3 separate regions of the Homo sapiens genome follow, and all the other regions are linked to region 2. Evidence: promoter capture Hi-C in human tissues and cell types (Jung and others, 2019). All regions are on one chromosome and are shown on one strand. Each heading gives the region's core, a stretch centred on a gene start or on the middle of the fragment in contact. The rest is flanking DNA. Distances are from core to core; before and after follow the strand shown.

Evidence for each region. The method cuts DNA at HindIII sites, captures the fragments that hold promoters and counts their contacts. A contact is called where the count stands out against the background at its distance.
Region 1: a contact is called between a fragment that was not itself captured here and the fragment with the promoter of IRGM in region 2, in 2 of the 25 tissues and cell types used here (H1 embryonic stem cells and aorta).
Region 3: a contact is called between a fragment that was not itself captured here and the fragment with the promoter of IRGM in region 2, in 1 of the 25 tissues and cell types used here (ovary).

Annotation. Positions count from the first base shown.
Region 1 is chr5:150,894,618-150,897,317 of GRCh38, forward strand. ZNF300 (zinc finger protein 300) reads right to left here. Exons shown (of 6, transcript NM_052860.4): 6 at 1-2,356. The coding sequence ends at 807. It also overlaps a transcript of IRGM not described here. Among named protein-coding and RNA genes, the nearest start is that of ZNF300, 9.0 kb to the right of the region's middle. The HindIII fragment of the contact is 3,286 bases long and covers 1-2,700 here.
Region 2 is chr5:150,845,088-150,847,787 of GRCh38, forward strand. IRGM (immunity related GTPase M) reads left to right here and starts at 1,434. Exons shown (of 2, transcript NM_001145805.2): 1 at 1,434-2,133; 2 at 2,622-2,700. RefSeq lists a silencer at 2,020-2,314. The HindIII fragment of the contact is 10,169 bases long and covers 1-2,700 here.
Region 3 is chr5:150,808,809-150,811,589 of GRCh38, forward strand. No RefSeq gene overlaps it. Among named protein-coding and RNA genes, the nearest start is that of SMIM3, 31 kb to the left of the region's middle. The HindIII fragment of the contact is 6,969 bases long and covers 1-2,781 here.

The sequences.
Region 1 (2,700 bases), core at 156-2,655, 50 kb after region 2:
AGAGTAAAGATTTAAAAAGTACTAATATTAACTGAAAATGAGCTCTGCATTGTATTTGTACTTACTGATAAAAAATACTCAGCTAGGAGAAGTATGTTTGCCTAAAGTCACACAATCTGTGAGGCACTGAGCCAGGATTAAACCCAAGGCCATCTGGCCTCAGTGCCAATGTTTTTCAGCTCCAAGTTCCCAGTTGGGAAGAGTAAAAGGGAGACCTGCTCAAAATGCATCAATCTCAAGGTCCTTCCAGAGATGCAGGTCAACTTATATGCTTGAGATGGGAAAATGCATACAGATCAACTTTACTGAATCTGATCAACCTATCATTCCATTTTTTGTACAAGAACTTTACATGTAGCTTTAGGGGTCATGCTCAAGCCCCTTCTTAAAATAGTGTATAGGTTTTATTTTATTGTTTACTTAAGCTTTCTTCCACGTCTTTTATAGAAAAATTAGTTTATGGCCATAATTATGACAAGCTAATATTAGCAGTTTCACAATGGCTGATTATCATTTTGTAGTATAAGGAATATGCAACTTGACAATATTCTGTATGCTTAACTTGCTGTGCTGATCACTGAGTTCATAACTTTAAAAGCTTTACATGCCATATTAAAAATGTTCTTCATTTATATAACTATTTTCCATCATCTTTGCTGGAAAAGTTAGGCATCACCAAACTAGAAACAAATTCCCTTAAAAATTTTTATCTATTGGGATGTTGTCCCCAAGCTTATCAAATTAATTGGGTTTCTAGTAATTATTAAGGCTTGAGCTAATACTAAGGCTTTTCTGTGGCCAGTTCATTATGATTTTACCACTGTGTGAATTCTCTGGTGTACAGTTAGTTGTGACTTCTGGATGAAGGCCTTCCCACATATAGCACATTGATAGGGTCTTTCCCCAGTATGAATCCTCTGATGTAAAACAAGGTCTGACTTCTGAGAAAAGGCCTTTCCACATTCAGCACATATGTAAGGTTTCTCTCCTGTATGAATTCGCTGGTGTCCCGGAAGGTGGGACTTCTGAGAGAAGGCTTTCCCACATTCAGTACATATATAAGGTTTTTCTCCTGTGTGAATTCTCTGATGTCCAATGAGATGTGACTTCTGGCAGAAGGCTTTGCCACATTCACTACATTTATAGGGTTTTTCTCCAGTATGTGTTCTCTGATGTATGATGAGCTGTGACTTGCGGGAGAATGTCTTTCCACATTCAGTACATTCATAAGGTTTTTCCCCAGTATGAACTAACTGATGTGTAATGAGTTCTGTCTTCCTGCTGAAGGCTTCCTCACATTGAGCACATTTGTAGGGTTTCTCACCAGTGTGAATTCTTTTATGTATAATGAGGTGGGACTTCTCACAGAAGGCTTTCCCACATTCGGTACACTCATACGGCTTCTCTCCAGTATGAGCTCTGTGGTGTATAATCAGCTGTGACTTCTGGGAAAAGGCCTTCCCACACTCTCTACATTCATAGGGTTTTTCCCCAGTATGTATTCTCTGATGTATAATGAGGGGTGATTTCTGGGAGAAGGCTTTCCCGCATTCACTACATTCATAGGGTTTTTCCCCAGTGTGAACTCTCTGATGTATAATAAGGGACGATTTCTGAGAGAAGGCTTTTCCACATTCAGAACAATCATAAGGTTTCTCCCCAGTATGAGTTCTCTGATGTACAACAAGATGAAACTTCTCACTGAAGGCTTTTCCGCATGCACCACAATCATATGGTTTCTTTCCAGTATGAATTCTTTGATGTACAATGAGTTGTGACTTCTTAGCAAAGGCTTTTCCACATGTAACACATACACAGCTTTTCTCTTTAGTTTCCACATTCTGATATTGAATAAGGGATTGTGTATTTCTAAAAACGTTTCCACACTGATTATCATCAAAAGGTATTACTCCATTGTGAATCTTCTCAAGATTAGAATTGGGCTCACTCTGGCTAGATGATTTTCCACCTCCAAAACTCTGATCAGGTTTTTTTCTTGAATTGCTCTTATAACAACTCGGTAGGTCAATATTTGGTTTTAAGTTCTTTTTAAAAGCATCATATTTATGGAATCTCTGTATTGATATATCTGTTTCTATGCACTCTTGAAATATTTTCCCCAGTGGATTATATTTATGCCCTGATGCCTCAGTCACTGTTTTGCTGTTAACAAATGTGACCTGCCTGAAGAGTTTGTCTTGATTCTCTAGAAATCTCTGCAGCTGACCATCACCTTGACAGACTTTTAAAATGGAGCACAATGAACCATCCCTTGTGACTCCTTTCAGTATCTTATGATGGAAGGAAACTGTCCCCAAAATACATGACTGGGAGTTGTGAAGGTTACTCTTCCTGTCTAAAAGAAGAAAAGATACAATTTAAGAGTCATCACAAGAGTCAATTAAGAGGGTAAAGAAGTAGAACAAATGGATGATCCAACATAGTAGATGAACTCACAAAAAAAGGATGGAAACAGGTCATCTCAGAAGACAGTACAGCATATAGTGTTATCAGGTGAATAGACAGACAAGAATGTTAAACAGAAATATTCATGTAAAAACTAAACTTAAAAGAGATGAAAAAGTGGGGTCTCATCACTAATTTTTGATTATTCTTCTAGAATATTTCACTTCTGCTTTCTGAATAGAAACCCCTTTTCACCTTTTAATTTCATTTATATTATAAATCATGTGCTACACA
Region 2 (2,700 bases), core at 184-2,683:
AGTATGTGTGGGCCTGTGCACAGAATGCAAGTAAGTGTATGTGTGCATGCCGAGGGTGAGTGAGAGTGTGTGTGTGGGGGGGTAAGTAAACATGGCTGGGCATGGGTGAGTGTGCACACCAGGTATGAGTGGCTGTGTGCAGTGTTGTGTGTGTTCACAATGAGTGTGTGAAACAGACCTGCCAGGCCATGCTAGTGAGAGGTGACAGCATGCTGGCAGCCCTCGCAGCCCTCGCTGGCTCTCGGAGCCTCCTCAGCCTTGGCGCCCACTCTAGTGGCACTTGAGGAGCCCTTCAGCCCGCCGCTGCACTGTGGGAGCCCCTTTCTGGGCTGGCCAAGGCCGGAGCTGGCTCCCTCAGCTTGTGGGGAGGTGTGGAGGGAGAGGCACGGGCAGCAACTGGGGCTGCGGGCGTCGCTTGCGGGCCAGCACGAGTTCCGGGTGGGCGTGGGCTCAGCGGGCCCGCGCTCAGAGCAGCCATCCGGCCCCGATGGCCCCTGGCAGTGAGGGGCTTAGCACCTGGGCCAGCAGCTGCTGTGCTGGATTTCTCCCCGGCCTTAGCTGCCTCCCCGCAGGGCAGGGCTTGGGACCTGCAGCCCGCCATGCCTGAGCCTCTCTCCCCTGCCCCACTCCGTGGGCTCCTGCACAGCCCGAGCCTCCCCTATGAGCGCCGCTCCCTGCTCCACGGCGCCCAGTCCCATCCACTGCCCAAGGGCTGAAGAGTGCAGGCGCATGGCCGGGGACTGCCAGGCAGCTTCACCTGCGGCCTGGTGCAGGATCCACTGGGTGAAGCCAGCTGGGCTCCTGAGTCTGGTGGGGACTTGGACAACATTTATGTCTAGCTAAGGGATTGTAAATACACCAATCAGCACTCTGTATCTAGCTCAAGGTTTGTAAACACACCAATCAGCACCCTGTGTCTAGCTCAGGGTTTGCGAACACACCAATCGACCCTCTGTATCTAGCTAATCTAGTGGGGACATGGAGAACTTTTGTGTCTAGCTCAGGAATTGTAAATGCACCAATCAGCACCCTGTGTCTAGCTCAGGGTTTGTGGATGCACCAATCAGCACTCTGAGCCTAGCTAATCTGGTGGGGACTTGGAGAATCTTTATGTCTAGCTAAGGGATTGTGAATGCACCAATTGGCACTCTATATCTAGCTCAAGGTTTGTAAACACACCAATCAGCACCCTGTGTCTAGCTCAAGGTTTGCAAATGCACCAATCTATACTCTGTATCTAGCTAATCTAGTGGGGAGGTGGAGAACTTTTGTGTCTAGCTCAGGGATTGTAAACACACCAATCAGCACCCTGTCAAAATGGACCAATCAGCTCTCTGTAAAACAGACCAATCGGCTCTCTGTAAAATGGACCAATCAGCAGGATGTGGGTGGGCCAGATAAGAGAATAAAAGCAGGCTGCCCGAACCAGCAGTGGTAACCTGCTCAGGTCCCCTTCCATGCTGTGGAAGCTTTGTTTTTTTGCACTTTGCAGTAAATCTTGCTGCTGCTCATTCTTTGGGTCCACACTGCCTTTATGAGCTGTAACACTCACCGTGAAGGTCTGCAGCATCACTCCTGAAACCTGTGAAACAACGAACCCCCCGGGGAGAAACGAACAACTCCAGACTCGCCGCCTGAAGAGCTGTAACTCTCACTTCGAAGGTCTGCAGCTTCGCTCCTGAGTCAGTGAAACCACGAACCCACCGGAAGGAAGAAACTCTGAACACATCCAAACATCAGAAGGAACAAACTCCGGACACGCAGCCTTTAAGAATTGTAACACTCACCGCGAGGGTCCGTGGCTTCATTCTTGAAGTCAGTGAGACGAAGAACCCACCAATTCCGGTAGGAGTAGGAAATCACATCACCTTCTTTTAATCAGTCTCAAATACCTGGCCCCTTGTGGAACCTGCAAGAGCCAGGTTTGGCGAATGCAATGATAAGCAATTGTCTAATCACTGCCTTGAAAAAGAGCAGAGCATTTGAGTATGCTGTCTCCTCCTCTCCCTCACTTCAGTTGGGCCCAACATGACAGTCTTAATGGAAGCTCGGGGGTCAAAGGCTGGTGGCTTACTTCACGTATATTGCAGCATTTCAGTACTGCTCTGCACGTGTGCTCCCCCGCCTGATGAGGTAAGTGTTAAACAGGGATGATCACAGCTTCAAGTAAGCAATGGGAATTGGATGTTTTATGTCCTCTGGCGCCATCTTCAGCAGAGAAATATATAGGTCACTTTTACTTGTCTGGTTTTGGTCTTGAAATATGTACTGAAACTTGTGAAGGAGCAGACCTATATTAGGATAGAGTAAAAGAGGGAAAGACAAAAACCTCTTGGGCTTTTCAGGAGACTTGGTTCATTCTCTGCTTTTCAAGCCATCTCATGGCCACATGCCTGCTTTGGAGGCTGACTCGGAGGCACAACCGGCCTCAGGGCGTTCCTCAGGGACCCTACCTTTCTTGCTCCCTGAAGAAATGTGCACATTGCTTGAATAAAAACAATCAAAGAACACTCAGTCAAGATCGTCTGCTGCAGTCTTCGTTGAGGGCTGGGGATGCTAAAAGTCAGATGATTCATGTGTACCCTGTCCATCCTAACTCACCTGCTCTTCTACTTCCGCAGCTTACTCCAGTGCCCACAGATACGACAGAGTGTCCCAAGTGCCCCTCACACTCTATTAGCTGCATCCTTAACCTCTTTT
Region 3 (2,781 bases), core at 37-2,536, 36 kb before region 2:
TTTCTTGGCCTTTATGACCTTAACACTTTTGAAGATTACAGGCCAATTATTTTGTAGAATAGCTCTCAATTTGAGTTCACCTAATGTTTTCTTATGAATAGATTTAGGTTTGCATCTTTGATAGGAATATCATAGCAATGGTGACAATTTTGATTCACCTCATTACTGGTGATGTTAACTTTGGTCACTGATTGGTGTCTGCTAGACTTCTCCACTGTAAAGTTACTCTTTCTTCCCTTTGTAATTAATAAATATTTTGTAAGGTGGTACTTTGAGACTATGCAAATATCCTGTTCCTCATCAGACTTTCAATTTGTCCATTCATTTATTTATTTCAGTGTGGACTCATGGGTTCCTATTTTATTCAGTAGGTTAAAACCAGTTGCTTTCATTATTTAGTTTGATGCTCAGTGTGGGGGTTCAATAAGGCTGGTGGGAAAAATATTAAAGATAGTTATAGTAATAGCCACAAACTCTCTTGGAAGGCCTGAGAGTTTGTATAACATCAGTAATAGATCTGGCTGAAGGCGGCCTGGTCCCTTTACCTTTAGTTAAATAAGTTAAAGTAGTAACTAAGGAATGTGGGGAAGTTATCTAGCTAGCTTGTTTACTCATGTGGTCTTAAGACTAACCTTTGATGTACGGCAGGTGCTTAATTGCTTTCTACTTGGGAATTCCACAGTGTCAATTACCCTCTAGTGGTGTTGACTCAAGCCTTTGTCAATTAATCTTCCCCAAATAAATGTGAGTCTCACTAGCTGGTCAGGGCCACAGTCACAACTGTTTACAGTACTCTCCAGGGAGTCTGTAAGTGGCTTGGACACTCAGCTGGACTGGCAAAGCAGAATATCTGTGTGTCAGTGTACTTCATTCATCCATGGCTGGCTCAGGGTCTGCGGGTCAGACCGCCCCAAGTGAGAACTCTTTCAAGAGTCTTTTTGATATGTTCTCATAAGTCTTTCAGTGCTTCTTTACTTCCTGGCAAAGATGTCCCAGGCTCATCTTATAGTTTCCCTGCCCTAGACTTGGGATCAGCCATTTCTCCAAGGAGACTTGGATCCTGTTTTGGAGTATGGTCTTCAGAAAAGATGTCAGAACCAGGTGTGCTCATTGTTACTGAGGGCTTGTTACTTCCTGTTTTCAATGGACAGAGCTAGTTAATATATATATATACTTATATACATACATAAGCACATTTTTACACCTATACTTCTATATCCCTATTGAAAACCATGGGTTCACTTTGATATCTCCAATTCCAATCTAACAGCACAGGGCTCATTCATGTTTTCTCTCCTTCTATATTTGAAACTTCCTTCTCCAATAGTGAGAAGTCTTGATATATTTTTGATCAAGCCTTCTGTATGTCACCAGTCTGTCATTGCTGCTGCATCCCACACTCCCTGTGCAATGCTTTCCCTACCTGCTTGGGCTTCAATATCCCACACCAGGCTTCTCCTCTCGTTGATGTTCTTCTTGCTCTACTTGAGCTCCATTACCCCTAACTAGTCCAGCATCCTCACCTTGCCTGGGCTTTAGCACTCTGATTTGGGTAACCACAGGATTCCCCCTATCCTTGCCATATTCATTTCTCTTGCCACTTAGTGGCCTTTGGATTGATCTGAACAAGGAAAGGATAAAAGAGAAGTTATCATTTTATTTTCAAGTTAGTATTTGCTGAGTACTATTTATCAAGCTCTGTATTATCTCATTTTAGTGACATAATGAACTTGATTACATTTTACTAATTGAAGCAGTCAAGATGAAAGAAGTTGTCACTTGCCAGACTCCACAGCCAGTAAGTGGCAGATCCAGGACTGGATGTTGTCTTGCTGACTATAAACCAATGTTCCACTTGGAAGCTGTGTATGTGTGATTCATAGAAAAAGTGGTTAATTTTCAAAGGCAATAATCATAGAATTGGTAGTGTATAAATTTTTTGGGGATATAATTGTCAGATGTCTCAATTACAAGCCCAAGATAGATGAGGCAGTATTAATTTGCTAATTACATATTTTGAAAAGATTGTACATAAAGAAAATGTTTTCTCTTTAATTACGGCATTAAGGATTTCAAAAGGTACTTTATAATTTATACCATTTCATTTCATAATTTTATTTCTTTTCTCTGTGTTTTAAAGCATGTTCTAAGGGTTAAACTTTTAAACTTTAAACTACACAGTGAATCACTTTCTTTTCTTTTCTTTTTTTTTATTTTTTTGAGATGGAGACTCAGTCTGTCTCCCAGGCTGGAGTGCAATGGTGCAATCTCAGCTCACTGTGACCTTTGCCTCCCAGGTTCAAGCGATTCTCCTGTCTCAGCCTCCTGAGTAGCTGGGATTACAAACATGCTCCACTACACCTGGCTAATTTTTGTATTTTTAGTAGAGACAGCGTTTCACAGTCTTGGTCAGGCTGGTCTCGAACTCCTGACCTCAGGTGATCCACCCGCCTTGGCCTTCCAAAATGCTGGGATTACAGGCATGAGCCACCGCGCCTGGCCTGTGAATCACTTTCAATAAGCCTTTCCATAATTTAGAAAAAGACATATAAGAAGGAAGATTTCTTACGCTGTTTGCCTTTTGTTAAATAATGGTGACCCAGTTTCTAAAAGGAACCAGTTTCTAAAAGGAAAACCTGAGTAATTACTTAGAAGAGGCTGGCTTTCTAAACTTAGTTAACAGCTATTATTATTTAATTGTCAGTTTTACAGTAACTTGGTAAGTTTCCTGCTTAATCTAACTACTCTAAATTGTACTAAAAAACCTACCCTGTTCCCTGC